Linked DNA regions of Homo sapiens: all the other regions are linked to region 4. Evidence: promoter capture Hi-C in 16 types of primary human blood cells and fetal thymus (Javierre and others, 2016). All regions are on one chromosome and are shown on one strand. Each heading gives the region's core, a stretch centred on a gene start or on the middle of the fragment in contact. The rest is flanking DNA. Distances are from core to core; before and after follow the strand shown. Region 1 overlaps RABEP1 (rabaptin, RAB GTPase binding effector protein 1). Region 2 overlaps RABEP1 (rabaptin, RAB GTPase binding effector protein 1). Region 3 overlaps RABEP1 (rabaptin, RAB GTPase binding effector protein 1). Region 4 holds the start of ZFP3 (ZFP3 zinc finger protein).

Region 1 (3,361 bases), core at 433-2,932, 210 kb before region 4:
TCACGCCTGTAATCCCAGCATTTTGGGAGGCCAAGGCGAGTGGATCACGAGGTCAGGAGAGCGAGACCATCCTGGCTAACACGGTGAAACCCCGTCTCTACTAAAAATACAAAAAAATTAGCCGGGTGTGGTGGCGGGCGCCTGTAGTCCCAACTACTTGGGAGGCTGAGGCAGGAGAATGGCGTGAACCCAGGAGGCGGAGCTTGCAGTGAGCTGAGATCGTGCCACTGCACTCTAGCCTGGGCGACAGAGCGAGACTCCATCTCAAAAAATAAATAAATACTTCTATAAAGACAATATTCAAATTAATGACTACATAAGAAGAGAACATCAAACTTCAGTGGATAAAAACCTAGCATATGATAAATGGAGATATTTTAGAAATTAGAGCCCTTAAGATTCAAAAGCAATTCTCTCCACAGAAAGCCAGGTAAGACATGAAAATTAAAGGCCATTACCTAATTCCAGGCTACTGTGTGTTGGGATATCAGAGTGACAAAGACAGTGGATAAGTGCAGGGCTTTTGTTTTTCAGATTAAGTATCTCTGCTAGTTCAAAGGTTGGGAGATTTACCAAGTTATAATTTACAAACAAAAACATGAACTATTGAATAAACGTTAAGACAACTATCTATCTATTCAGAAAAAAAAATAAAGGGTGCTCTGCCTCAGCCCTGGAAGCGAGACTGTTCCTTATGTCTACTAGTCTTGTATTCTTTAGGGTTTTCTTTTGTCTTAGTGGGTGATCTCCAGTTTAGTTAATAATTCTTTATATTAAACTTCTCTAATTTAAAAATAAATAAATTGCAAATGGATTGGACTACAAAATATAAAAAACCACAAGTGTTGAAAATGATAAGGTTTTTTCTCTTTAAATAAACATGAGAGTTGGGGAGGTCTTCCTCAGCAAAATAAGAAACCCAGAAACCATAAATTTAAAAAAAAAAAAAAAAGGTCAGATCTACATAAAAATTAAAGCTTTCTGCATAACAAAAAATTTTTAAAACGAGGTAAATGACAAACTGTGAGACCAAAATTTGCAACACATACCAAAGGGCTAATATAATTTACAAAGAGCTCCTCCAAATTACTGAGAAAAGGACAACCCAATGGAAAAATGGGAAACAGATATAAACAGACAAGCCACAAAAGAAAGATGTGAAACAGCAACTCATAGTAGAAGAGAAAAGGAAGAGGAAGAAGAAGAAGAAAGGGAGGGAGGAAGGGAGGGCAAGCAAAAAAAGAAAAAAATGAAAGAAAGAAAAAAATGGATGAAAGGAAGGAAGCAAGCCAGCCAGCCAATAAACAAAGAGGCCATAATTAATATAATTCCTATCCTGGAAGTGCAAATTAAAAAGCCACACTTCAACCAGGCACAGTGGCTCACTCCTATAATCCCAGCACTTTGGGAGGCCAAGGAGGGTGGATAAATTGAGAACAGGAGATCAAGACCAGCCCGGCCAACATGGTGAAACCCTGTCTCTACTAAATATACAAAAAAATGAGCCAGGTGTAGTGGTGCACGCCTGTAATCCCAGCTACTTGAGGGGCTGAGGCACGAGAATCGCCTGAACCTGGGAGGCAGAGGTTACAGTGAGCAGAGATCACACCACTGCACTCCAGCCTGGGCAACACAGCAAGACTTGGTCTCAAAAAAATAAAGAAAAGAAATAAAATAGGCCAGGCGCAGTGGCTCACGCCTGTAATCCCAGCACTTTGGGAGGCCAAGGCGGATGCATCATCTGAGGTCAGGAGTTAGAGGCCAGCCTGACGAACATGGCGAAACCTCATCTCTACTAAAAATATAAAATTAGCCGAGCATGGCAGCACATGCCTGTAATCCCAGCTACTTGGGAGGCTGAGGCAGGAGAATCACTTGAACCTGGGAGGTAGAGGTTCCAGTGAGCCGAGATAGTGCCACTGCACTCTAGCCTGGGCGACTGAGCGAGATTCCATCTCAAAAAATAAATAAATAAAATAAAATAAAAAGCCACACATCATCTACCTGCTTAAAACCCTTCAGTGGGTTCCCGTACACCTCTAAGGAAAAAGACCCCTCAGGCCAGCCCATACCTACTCCTCTACCCAGGCACAGTGACCTTTCTTCAGTTATGTTACTCGTTCTGCATCCTCCAAAACCAGGAGTCCTGCTCATCCATCAGATCTCGGCTCCAGGACTACTTCATCAAAAGCCTTTACTGACCTCTGTATATTGGTCAAATAAGTCAGTTATAGGCATTCATAGCATTGTGTTCATCTAGTTGCTCAGGCCAAACACCTTTGAGTAATCCTTGACTACTCAGTTTCTTTTGCATCCCATATTCAATCCGTCAGCAAATCCTGTTGGCCATACTTTCAAAATATAACCTCCATCCTGGTCCAAGCTTCAACATCTTTTTTCTGGATTCATACCTCCCTATTACTCCACTGCCAATCCAGCAGTCAGAGTGATTTTTTTTTTGAGACAGGGTCTTACTCTGTCACCTAGGTGGGAGTGAAGTAGCAAGATCACAGCTCACTGCAGCCTCGACCTCCCAGGCTTAGGTGATCCTCCCACCTCAGCCTCCTGAGTAGCTGGGACTAGAGGCACAGGCCATCACACCCGGCTAATTTTTTGTAGAGATGCGGTTTTGCCATATTGCCCAGGCTGGTCTCAAACTCCTGGGCTCAAGCAATCCACCCACCTAGGCCTCCCAAAGTGTTGAGATTACAGGTATGAGACAACACCACGCCCGCTCAGTGTTTTGGGTTTTTTTTTTTTTTTTTTTTTTTTTGCGACAGAGTCTCACTCTGTTGCCCAGGCTGGAGCACGGTGGCATGATCTTCGCCCACTGCAACCTCCACCTCCCAGGTTCAAGCAATTCTCCTGCCTCAGCCTCCCAAGTAGCTGGGATTACAGGCGCGTGCCACCATGTCTGACTAATTTTTGTATTTTTAGTAGAGATTGGGTTTCACCATGTTGGCCAGGCTGGTCTGGAACTCCTGACCTCAGGTGATCCACCTGCCTCAGACTCCCAAAGTGCTGGGATTACAGGCGTGAGCCTGTATACTGTTTGTCAGGCACAATTCTAGGCATGAGCCACCTCGCCTGTAATCCCAGCACTTTGGCCCAGAGTGATTTTTTTAAAACATAAGTGAGATCACATCATTCCTCTGTTCAAAGCTTTTCAATGGTTCCCCATAGTGAAAACCAATCTTTGCAATACTTCTAGGGCCCAAGAAGATCTGCCTCCACCTCGTTACCTCTCTGACCTCATATCCTACTACACTCTTGCCCCAGGCCCCGTAACATCATTCCAGCCAGACTGACCTCCATGCCATTACTCAAACATGCCAGACATGCTTCCGCCCTCAAGGCATAT
Region 2 (3,587 bases), core at 1,088-3,587, 250 kb before region 4:
ACCCAACAGAGTGCAGTGAAGATTTCACATACAAAGTTTCTTAAAAAATCTAAACCAGGCCAGGCGCTGTGGCTCACACATGTAATCCCAGGACTTTGGGAGGCCGAGGCAGGTGGATCACCTGAGGTCTCAGGAGTTCAAGACCAGCCTGACCAACATGGCGAAATCCCGTCTCTACTAAAAATACAAAATTAGCTGGGCGTGGTGGCACATGCTTGTAATCCCAGCTACTCGGGAGGCTGAGGCAGGAGAATCGCTTGAGCCCGGGAGGCAGAGGTTGCAGCGAGTACAGTGAGCTGAGACTGCGCCACTGCACTCCAAGCTGGACAACAGAGCGAGATTCCATCTCAAAAAAAAAAAAAAAAAAAAATTCTAAAACGTATGGCCAAACTACACTGGAAGGGCAATAATTAGCTGAAGCTCATCAATGTAAACAGTTACTTTACCCTTTGCATGGCAGCTCTCTCTACTCCAGCACATTCCCTGTGCCCATACAGCTTAATTATTTGAGATTACTAGCCTGCCTCCTAGAAGAAATCGACTTTTAAGCCTTACAATGAACTATAGTCCTCATTTAATGCATTATCTCTATAACATCCCTATTATAACTCTCCATTATTAAGTTAGATACGATTGATATATCCATTTATGTTATTAGTGACTTCTCTTTTATCTGAAAGTATATCTTGATGATGACAGTACATAAAACCACAAATGAAACTCTGTATATATTTTAAGATTCTCTGAAAATATTCTCAATCATCAGAATCGGATATCTTAGAAAATCACAAAATTGATCTTTCTCTGTCTTTACCTTTCATAACAGCCTGAAGTGAAGCAACTTCTTCTCTCCACTGTCTTTTCACTTCATCTATAGCTTCTTGCTTGGTGTTCTCAGAGACTGTGGCAATCGCCTTAATATTCTCCATCTCTGCTTGAGCTTCCCACAGCTGGGTTCGAAGGTGTCCCAAATCATCTTGTGCAGCTTGTAATACTGCATTTTGCCTCTTCAGATCCTCTGGAGAGAAAAGTAAAAGATAGTCCATTAATGTTCACTTTGATCAGACTGGCATTCCAATAAAGAAATAAGGTATTAAATTTTAAAATATAAACATACAAAATGACACCCTTTTAATAGAGGTGAGATTTAAGGTAAGCTGGGTATCACAAATCAATTGTTACTATCTATCTAATGATCCAGTAGTTACAGTCATGGTTTTAGAGCTCAATTTACGCATTCCCGTCTGCTGACTAAATGAACTTGGTCATGTTATTTAATCTCTCTGGCCTAAGTTTCCACATCTGCAAAATGGAAGTTAAAAACAGCCACCTCACAAGGTTGTTGTAATGATAATTTATTGGAAACGCTAATTAGTACATTACCTTCCACAAACATTCAAAAAATGTTTAATAAAAGAGAAAAGAAAGCCAGAGCACATGGCAGTGACTAGACGTATGTTCTTTAAAGTTAGCATTAATTTCTCGGCTCCCTCTTACCATCTTTTAAATACTAAGTTGATGTAATGTGCCTACTACATGGTTTAAGCCCAGGCAGAACATATGTTTGGCCAAACTAACTTCAAAAAAAAGATGAACTTATCAACAGTATACAGGGATGTGTGATTGTTTTCCCATACCCTTAACAACAGTCACTATTTTCCATCTTTTAAAAATTCTTGTAAATATCATGGGTAGCAAATGGTCACTTTAATCTACATTTTCCCTGTTAATAAGGAGTTTGAGCATCTTCTCATATATGTACTAGTGACTCATTTCCTCTTTGGTGACATTCTTTACATTTGCTTCTAATGAATGATTTTCCTTCTGATCTGTAAGAGCATTTTATATATTCTGGATATTAAGTCTGTCTTCTCTTACAAAACTTTTCCCAGTCAGCCGCTGTGTTTCTTTAAAAAAAAAAAAAAAAAAAAAAAAAAAAGTTAAGAGATAGGGTCTCAATTGTCGCACAGGCTGGAGTGCAGTGACGCAAACATAGACCACTATAACCTCAAATTCCTGGGCTCAAGCGATCCCCCCACCTCAGCCTCCTGAGTAGCTAGGACTGCAGGCATGCACCATCACGCCCGGCTAATTTTTGAAATTTCTTGTAGAGACAAAGTTTCACTACGCTGCCCAGGCTGGTCTTGGCCTCCTGGGCTGAAATGATCCTCCCGCCTCAGCCTCCCAAAGCGTTGGGATTACAGGTGTGAGCCACCGCGCCCGGCCTTAACTTACGCCTTTTAGCATCTAAAGTTGTAAGGTATTTATGAAAAAAAAAATTCTTCATCTTTGTAAAAGTATCAATTTCCTCTCCAAAGCACAATAACTGAGCCAAACTGACCATGAAAATAAACTGATTTAAGGTCTAATTCTACCGCTAACCAGCTGTATGACTTTAAGGAAATCACAAGATTCTCAAGCCTCAGTTTCCTCATGAAGACAGTGGCAATACTTTCTTGCATAAATTTCTAACTACTTATAAAAATCCAATAGTAAAATAAGAGAACTTTTAAACGTTGTGAAATGTTCATTGTTATCACAGGAGTTAATGATTTGGTAGTCAAAGTCACAGAGGGAAACACCTAGTCATGCTAAGTTGTTTTGAAATCTTTACTCTCTCAACATCAGTTTCCATCACTCTTAAAATATTTTGAATCTCTAGCCAAAGACAGTTTTAAGAACATTAATTAAAAAAGTAATTGTGTGAAGTCCCTTAAAGACAGACACCTGGGAAGTTGTGGTAGGCATGCAAATAGACAGACCCAGAAAGATGTAAACACGTGAAACCACAAAGGAAAAGTTTATGTGTGTCAACTCTGTATTCTGAGTGTTAAACTGTTTCATAAAATGTGAAAAAAGAAAAAGCATTATTTCTGGGATACTTTATTCATTTTTGGGTACTACAATTTTATCAAGGCTCAAGTTTATACACTTAACAGGTCCTCATGCTAATTACCTCTGGTACTTTTGATTTGCTGGAGATTACCCAGAGCTATTCACTACCATGTTGTCATTATGAACAGAAAAACTGTAAACAAATACCAAGCCTAAATATCCATTTTTGGCACTTAAAAGTGAAATAGAGAGCCTGGAGGAAGACTTGGTCAACAGTAACTTTAGTTATATATATATATATATATATATATATGAACATATATATGAATGTTATATTTATATATATAAATACAAAAAAACAGGAGACAGAAATTTAAAATAAAGTTAGAAAATCTTAATTTTTTGTAGTAAAGCATTTCAAACATTATGTTTGCCAACAGTAGGAGTTCTAACATTCGTTTATTGCTTTTACTGCTGTATATGTAATTATTAAGATTTTCAAACATATTCAAAAGTTGAGGGTATACTACAACAATCCTTCATATAGCTTTCACCAAGACTCAAAAGGTATTAAGATTTGCCATGCTTATTTATTTTTTTGAGACGGAGTCTCGCTCTTGTTGCCCAGGCTAGAGTGCAGTGGCACGATCTTGGCTCACTGCAACCTCTGCCTCCCGGGTTCAACAGATTGTCCTGCTTCAGCCTCCCAAGTAGCTGGGATTACAGGCGCGTGCCACCACGCCCAGCTAATT
Region 3 (3,633 bases), core at 989-3,488, 230 kb before region 4:
AGGCTGGATGGAGTGCAGTGGCACAATCTCAGCTTGCTGCAACCTCCGCCTCCCAGGTTCAAGCGATTCTCCTGCCTCAGCCTTCTGAGTAGCTGGGATTACAGACCCATGCCAACATGCCTTCTAATTTTTGTATTTTTTTTGTAGAGACAGAGTTTCACCATGTTGGCCCAGCTGGTCTCGAACTCATGACCTTGTGATCCGCCTGCCTCGGCCTCCCAAAATGCTGGGATTACAGGTGTCAGCCACCGTGCCTGGCCTTATTTTCATAGTAATATGTAAAATATCCATAATGTGATCAACTGTGTATTTATAATAAATTTTAATAATATCTCCGTAAAGAAAACATTTATATGCATATTTTAAGAGTTCCAAGCACAAGATGTTACTTTAGGCCAGTAGTTTTTAAAGTATGGTCTCTGAACAGTAACATCTCCGCCAACTGGTAACTTGCTAAAAACACAAACTCTGGATCCCAGTGCCCTAGTGAGTCAGCGTCTCTGAGGGGGGAAGCCAGTAATCCTTGTTTTAACGAACCCTATTAGGTAATTCAAATGCACACGCAAGCCCATTGTGGTGGCTCACGCCTGTAATCCCAGCACTCTGGGAGGCCGAGGCAGGCGGATCATCTGAGGTCAGGAGTTCGAGACCAGCCTGGCCAACATGGTGAGACCCCGTCTCTACTAGAAATACAAAAATTAGCAGGGCGTGGTGGCACACACCTGTAGCCCCAGCTACTAGGGAGGCTAAGGCACAAGAGTCGCTTGAACCCAGGAGGCGGAGGTTGCAGTGAGCCAAGATCACACCACTGCACTTCAGCCTGGACAACACAGCGAGACTCGGTCTCAAAAAAAAAAAAAAATGAATGAAACAAATGCACACTCAAGTTTCAAAACCATTTTTAAGAAAAAAATTCTAAAGGAGATGTAAAGAAGAAAACCCAACGCAAGGAGGAAAACCACTGTAAAATTTCGGCTATAAAGCTATTCATGTGTTTGTTAAACAGATAACAATGGATAAATCACTGATATTTTCATTCCACTGGATATGTTTAAAAGCAGGAAGTTGGCCAGGCGTGGTGGCTCACCCAGCACTTTGGGAGGCCGAAGCGGGCGGATCACAAGGTCAGGAGTTTGAGACCAGCCTGACCAACATGGTGAAACCCCGTCTCTACTAAAAATACAAAAATTAGCCGGGCATGGTGGCACACACCTGTAATCCCAGCTACTCGGGAGGCTGGGGCAGGGCAGGAGAATCACTTGAATATGGGAGGCGGAGGTTGTAGTGAGCTGAGATAGTGCCACTGAACTCCAGCCTGCGTGACAGGGGAAGATGTCGGGGGAGACTCCCATCTCAAAAAAAAAAAAAAAAAAGGACGAAGCTTTCATTTAAATTGTAAATATCAACAATATAAAATTTTATCCTTCACATCTTTTCAAGCAAAAAATTTTAAACATCAACTTTAACATGTATGAAGGTTGTATGTAAGTATATATTTTACAGAGTTCATAAGTTAAAAAAGGTGCATGATCACTAGTCCAGAACAGGATTTTTCAAACTGTAGTACTTGAACTAGCAGTAACTGGAATCATCTATGAGCTTATTAGAAATGCAAATTTCTGGGCTCCACCCAAACATACTGTGGTTTAACAAGCTCTCCAGGTGATTTTTATCCACATTTGAATTTGAGAGCCACTATTCTATTATAGACTAGAGCAGTTTTCAAAATTTAGTGTGCAGCTGGACCCAAATCCCACAGTTTCTAACTCAGTAAATCTGGGTGGGACCCAAACATTTGCATTTCTAACAACTTTCCCAGGTGATGATGACGATAATGATGCTGTTCCACAATCACACTTTGAGAATCACTGGTCTAGAGAGCTGTGGAAACTACATTCACATTATTCTAGGTCGATACTCAGAAGGTAAGCCCCTTCCCTGATCCTTCAAATCAGGTCCCCCAACATGTTCTCTCATGTATTTTCCTTATACAGTTTCTTTTTCTTTTTTTTTTTTTTTTGAGATGGGAGTTTCACTCTTGTCGCCCACGCTGGAGTGCAATGGCGCAATCTCAGCTCACCTCAACGTCTGCCTCCTGGGTTCAAGCAATTCTTCTGCCTCAGCCTCCCGAGCAGCTGGGATTACAGGCATGCGCCACCATGCCCAGCTAATTTTGTATTTTTAGTACAGACAGGGTTTCTCCATGTTGGCCAGGCTGGACTTGAACTCCCGACCTCAGGTGATCCGCCCCCGCCCGTTGGCCTCCCAAAGTGCTGGGATTACAGGTGTGAGCCACCGCGCCCAGCCTGCAATTTCCTGTTTTAACGACTCATCACACAATTACTTAACATCTGTTTTGCTCATTGAGTTCAACCAAGTTAAAGAACCACATGAATTTTCCTCTTTCTGTATACCCAACACAAGTATAATGTCTGCCTCATAGTAGATATTAAATAAATATTTATTGATAAATAACTGAATATTTGTTGGGTAAAACTGATGTTTCATGGAATTAAAGATAACATAGCTAAAGCTGTTATTAGAATGCCAACAATCCTAGTTTGCCCACAACTGTATCCCAAATGTTAAGAGCAATAACATTCTCTTATCTCAAGGCTATGCAACCTAAATATGAACAGTAAGATCAAAAAACAAGGCAAAATCTGAAGAAGGCATTTTTCAACTTGTTTTTCAATCCCATTCTTAACCTAGCCTTTAAACAGTATTCTTTTATTATGCAAGTACAAATAAAATCAAGGTTTATTCAATGATAAAATTAACACTACTACCAAGAAACTCAACACTTTAAGGCAGTTTTCGCATTGAAGTTGGTGCGAGACTTATGAACTTACCCTCTTTAGCCAAATATAACTCCTTAAATTTTGCTCTCTTTTGATTAAATTCTTGTTCAAGCTGCTGTTGTGCACGTAAAAATTCTGCATTAATTTTTTCCAATTCTGCTACCCGTTGCTGAAGAGAAACTGGGGGAAAAAAACACTAGTTAACAAGTAATAACTTTTATTCATAAATTTATAAAACAGTAAATTAGTATTCTAGCTGTACATTGCTATACGTGAAACAAGTAGTCAAGCTTCTTCCAAAAATCCACCATATGCTAGGATATTCTAATGTTTAAAAAAAGTAAGACAGACCAGGCATGGTGGCTCACGCCTGTAATCCCAGCACTTTGGGAGGCCGAGGCGGGCGGATCACCCGAGGTCAGGAGTTCGAGACCAGCCTGGCCGACATGGAGAAATCCCATCTCTATTAAAAATACAAAAATTAGCCAGGTGTAGTGGCAGGTGCCTGTAATCCCAGCTACTCAGGAGGCTGAGGCAGGAGAATCGCTTGAACCCGGGAGGCGGAGGTTGCAGTGGGCCGAGATCGCACCACTGCACTCTAGCCTGGGTGACAGAGTGAGACTCTGTCTCAAAAAAAAAAAAAAAGATCCTTGTATTAGACTTAATACACAACTGTAAATGAGTCATGTAAAGTGAAACCACAAATATACAGAGAATCACATAAGGCCAACTTCCCCACAAAAAAAAGAGCTTCTAAAGTGCCTTTGTGCAACTGAATAGCAATTTAATTTTAGAACTGTTAAATATTGGATTATTTGAACTACTTATCCCA
Region 4 (3,429 bases), core at 63-2,562:
CATGAGCCATCACGCCCAGCTGACCCCCTCCATTTTCTTCCCTGACCCCCAGGCTCTAAGGCAGACAGCTACTCCTTCACCTTGTAGCAGCTACCCCACTGCATTATTAATTTTTCATACCTATTTTCTTCTCTAGACCATAAGCAAGGATGCTGTTCCATTCATCCTGGTATTCTGAGTACCTAGCATATTTCAGATACCTGGTAAATGTTAAGTGAATTTGTGTAACTGTCTTATATATATAATGAATCTGCAATACCTCCCTTTTTTCTGAGACAGGGTCTTGGCTCTATTGCCCAGACTCACTGCAGCTTCAACTTCCCAGGCTCAAGAAAATCCTCCCACCTCAGCCTCCCAAGTAGCTGGGACTACAAGCATGCGCCACCACACCCAACTACCCAACTAATTTCTTTGTTTTTTGTACAGATGGTGTCTCACTATGTTGCCCAGGCTGGTCTTGAACTCCTGTGCTCAAGTGATCCTCCCGCCTAGGCCTCCCAAAATGCTGGGATTACAGGCATGAGCCACTGCACCCAGCCTCTGTAATACTCTTGATGGCTAACTGGATATTTCATTCATCATTATATCTAAAGAGCCTAGGATAGTGTCTGACACATAGCTGGTGTCGATAACTGTTTGTAAAAATAAGTTCCTTTTCCCAATCTGGGTGATATTTAATTTATGGCACTGTTAACCTCCTTTCCTCTCTTCTCCCTCTGACCCACAATAGGGCTCTATCTTTGCAGCTCAAACCTGTCTCCTTTTCACGACCACCCCTCATAAGCCAATATCTTGTCTGGCAGCACAGGGCACAATCTGCCACTAGGGCGTTAAGTTTGTGACACTGCCCGCCATTTCGTCCTAGCGGTTTACTTGGGGGTGGAATGTCTGAGAAAACCACAGCTCCCACGGGTCCCCACCTCGGTACAGAAGGGAGTGTCCCTGCTTCTCCCACCCCCACGGCTGACAGGCACCAAACCAGAGCTGGGACTGTCCCTGGCGGTGTCCAGGCCCCACCCTCTCTGTGTGCAGGTGGAAATGAAGGCCTGGGGGCGGGGGGAATGGAGGGAGGCATAAACTTCAAGGTCACACAGCGAACCCCGGTCAGAACGGGCCTAAACGTAGGGTTTCCGCTCGGCTCTCTAGGGAGCTGGGAGCCCAGCCCCCGCCTACCCCCACAGCCGCGACGGAATGAGGTCTCACCGCAGGCCGCTACTGCCCCGCGCTCGCTCACTCCGCTGAGGCTCCGCGCTGCTGGGCCGCTCGCACAGAGCCCGCAGCTGTTGTCCCGGTGTCACTGGCGACGGGCATCGGCCACTTCCGGTACCCGGGCGGCACTCCAGCCAATCGGCGCGCGTCGCACTCCGCTGGAGGAACAGGTGGTCAGCGCACCGACGCCCCCTTGCCTTTTCCGGCTTGCTTTTCGCCGGTTCTAGCCCTAGCCCAAGTTCCACGTCGCCGCCGCCTGCCGAGCCGGCTCCCTGGAACAGCAAAGTGCACCCGTCGATGCCCACTTCAGCCCCGGAATCATTGACGACCTGAGTCCTCCGGGTTTCCTAGAACGGCTCCGGGGATGAACTTCCGCTCCGCGATCTGCCGCTCTGCGCCCTCGTGTCGCTCCCCAAGCATTGCTCTAGGCTCAAGAACTCGAGAATCCGCTTCGCATTCCCGCGGGGACCGTTTGCGCGACCCTTTTAACTCTCCCAACCCGCATCGTTCTTATCCCATCCTTCCTTTCCACAGACTCCGTGGGTCTGATAAGCACAGGGCTGCAGATCCTGGGAACAGGTCTCTCCTCGGCGGGAGCGAAGGGAGACATGCTTTGAGTTCCGGAAGGGCTTGCAGGAGTGACGTTTGGCCTGAAATCTCAAGATTGCGTGGGAATTACCAAGGTTAAGAGTAAAGGCCTAGGTTAAGCTGCCGAGGCCACGGAAACAGCATTCTGCAGCTAGCCTTCCTGGGTTCCCTGAGCAAGCTTGGCCCATTCTCACCTCAGAACCTTTCCTTGTTACTTCCTCTGTAATTTTGCACAGCCAGCTTGTTTTCTTGTTTGTTTGTTTTTTGAGATGGAGTTTCGCTCTTGTTGTCCAGGCTGGAGTGCGATGGCGCCATCTCCGCTCACCGCAACCTCCGCCTCCCGGATTCAAGCGATTCTCCTACTTCAGCCTCCCCGAGTAACTGGGATTACAAGCATGTGCCACCACGCCCGGCTAATTTTGTATTTTAGGTAGAGACGGGTTTTCTCCATTTTGGTCAGGCTGGTCTCGAACTCCCGACCTCAGGTGATCCGGCCGCCTCGGCCTCCCAAAGTGCTGGGATTACAGACATGAGCCACCGCGCCCGGCCTCCAGCTTGTTTTTGTTTGTTTTTTGAGGCGGAGTTTCGCTCTTGTCGCCAAGGCTGGAGTGCAATGGCACGATCTCTGCTCACTGCAACCTCCACCTCCCGGGTTCAAGCGATTCTCCAGCCTCAGCCTCCAGAGTAGCTGGGATTACAAGTGCCAGCCACCACGCCCGGCTAATTTTTGTATTTTTAGTAGAGACGGGGTTTCACCATGTTGGTCAGGCTGGTCTCGAACTTCTGACCTTAGGTCAGACCTTAGGCCCACCTTGGCCTCCCAAAGTGCTGGGATTACAGGCGTGAGCTACCGCGTCCAGCCAGCCAGTTTGTTTTTAGGTGTCAGTTCCAAGATCACCACATTGAAGACTTTCATTCTATATAATGTTGCCTCAGAGTACACTATCCTTCCCAAATATCAGTTACAAAGGACTATGATTAGCCCTGTTTGGGTCTGGTGCTCAACCATGGACCAATCAAGGGGGAAAGGACCGTGTGATTTACCAAGCCTGGTCACCTGCCTTCCCGCAAGGATGACGGCGGGCTTCTGTGTTTGCCTCACCATAATCCTATGAAATAGGGAAAGGAGTGACCACCCTTAGAAGGGAATATTGTGTTTGTATGCCACACACAATCTAGCAGAAAGAAAACTTTCTCTTGAATTCATCATTGCCATTAGGCCCTAGACTCTAGGGTCCATCACTTTAGCCACTCTGGTACTAAAATCCTTAACTCCCTTGCCCTACTGTCTGCAACTGCATGGGAAGTTTGTTAACTCTGATTCAATCAGAATATCTATTTTCCGGCCGGGCGTGGTGGCTCATGCATGTGATCCCAGTACTTTGGGAGGCTGAGGCAGACAGATCACAAGGTCAGGAGTTCGAAACCAGCCTGGCCAAAATGGTGAAACCCATCTCTATTAAAAGTACAAAAATTAGGGCCAGGTGCGGTGGCTCACACCTGTAATCCCAGCACTTTGGGAGGCGAAGGCGGGAGGATCACAAGGTCAGGAGTTCGAGACCAGCCTGGCCAATATGGTGAAACCCTGTCTCTACTAAAAATACAAAAATTAGCCAGGCATGGTGGTGCATG

Evidence for each region. The method cuts DNA at HindIII sites, captures the fragments that hold promoters and counts their contacts. A CHiCAGO score of 5 or more calls a contact.
Region 1: a contact is called between a fragment that was not itself captured here and the fragment with the promoter of ZFP3 in region 4, in 1 of 17 cell types (total B cells). The highest score is 5.4, in total B cells.
Region 2: a contact is called between a fragment that was not itself captured here and the fragment with the promoter of ZFP3 in region 4, in 2 of 17 cell types (naive B cells and total B cells). The highest score is 5.5, in naive B cells.
Region 3: a contact is called between a fragment that was not itself captured here and the fragment with the promoter of ZFP3 in region 4, in 2 of 17 cell types (naive B cells and total B cells). The highest score is 8.3, in naive B cells.

What each region holds. Positions count from the first base shown.
Region 1 is chr17:5,287,011-5,290,371 of GRCh38, reverse strand. The region is part of intron 1 of RABEP1 (rabaptin, RAB GTPase binding effector protein 1); the gene reads right to left. Among named protein-coding and RNA genes, the nearest start is that of RABEP1, 6.4 kb to the right of the region's middle. The HindIII fragment of the contact is 1,406 bases long and covers 980-2,385 here.
Region 2 is chr17:5,329,380-5,332,966 of GRCh38, reverse strand. RABEP1 (rabaptin, RAB GTPase binding effector protein 1) reads right to left here. Exons shown (of 18, transcript NM_004703.6): 3 at 815-1,018. Among named protein-coding and RNA genes, the nearest start is that of RABEP1, 49 kb to the right of the region's middle. The HindIII fragment of the contact is 8,927 bases long and covers 1-3,587 here.
Region 3 is chr17:5,308,042-5,311,674 of GRCh38, reverse strand. RABEP1 (rabaptin, RAB GTPase binding effector protein 1) reads right to left here. Exons shown (of 18, transcript NM_004703.6): 2 at 2,853-2,981. Among named protein-coding and RNA genes, the nearest start is that of RABEP1, 28 kb to the right of the region's middle. The HindIII fragment of the contact is 1,710 bases long and covers 1,384-3,093 here.
Region 4 is chr17:5,076,350-5,079,778 of GRCh38, reverse strand. It overlaps ZFP3 (ZFP3 zinc finger protein), which reads right to left and starts at 1,312. Exons shown (of 2, transcript NM_153018.3): 1 at 1,204-1,312. It overlaps ZFP3-DT (ZFP3 divergent transcript), which reads left to right and starts at 1,666. Exons shown (of 2, transcript NR_186458.1): 1 at 1,666-1,892. RefSeq lists enhancers at 1,536-1,605, 973-1,844. The HindIII fragment of the contact is 11,376 bases long and covers 1-1,977 here.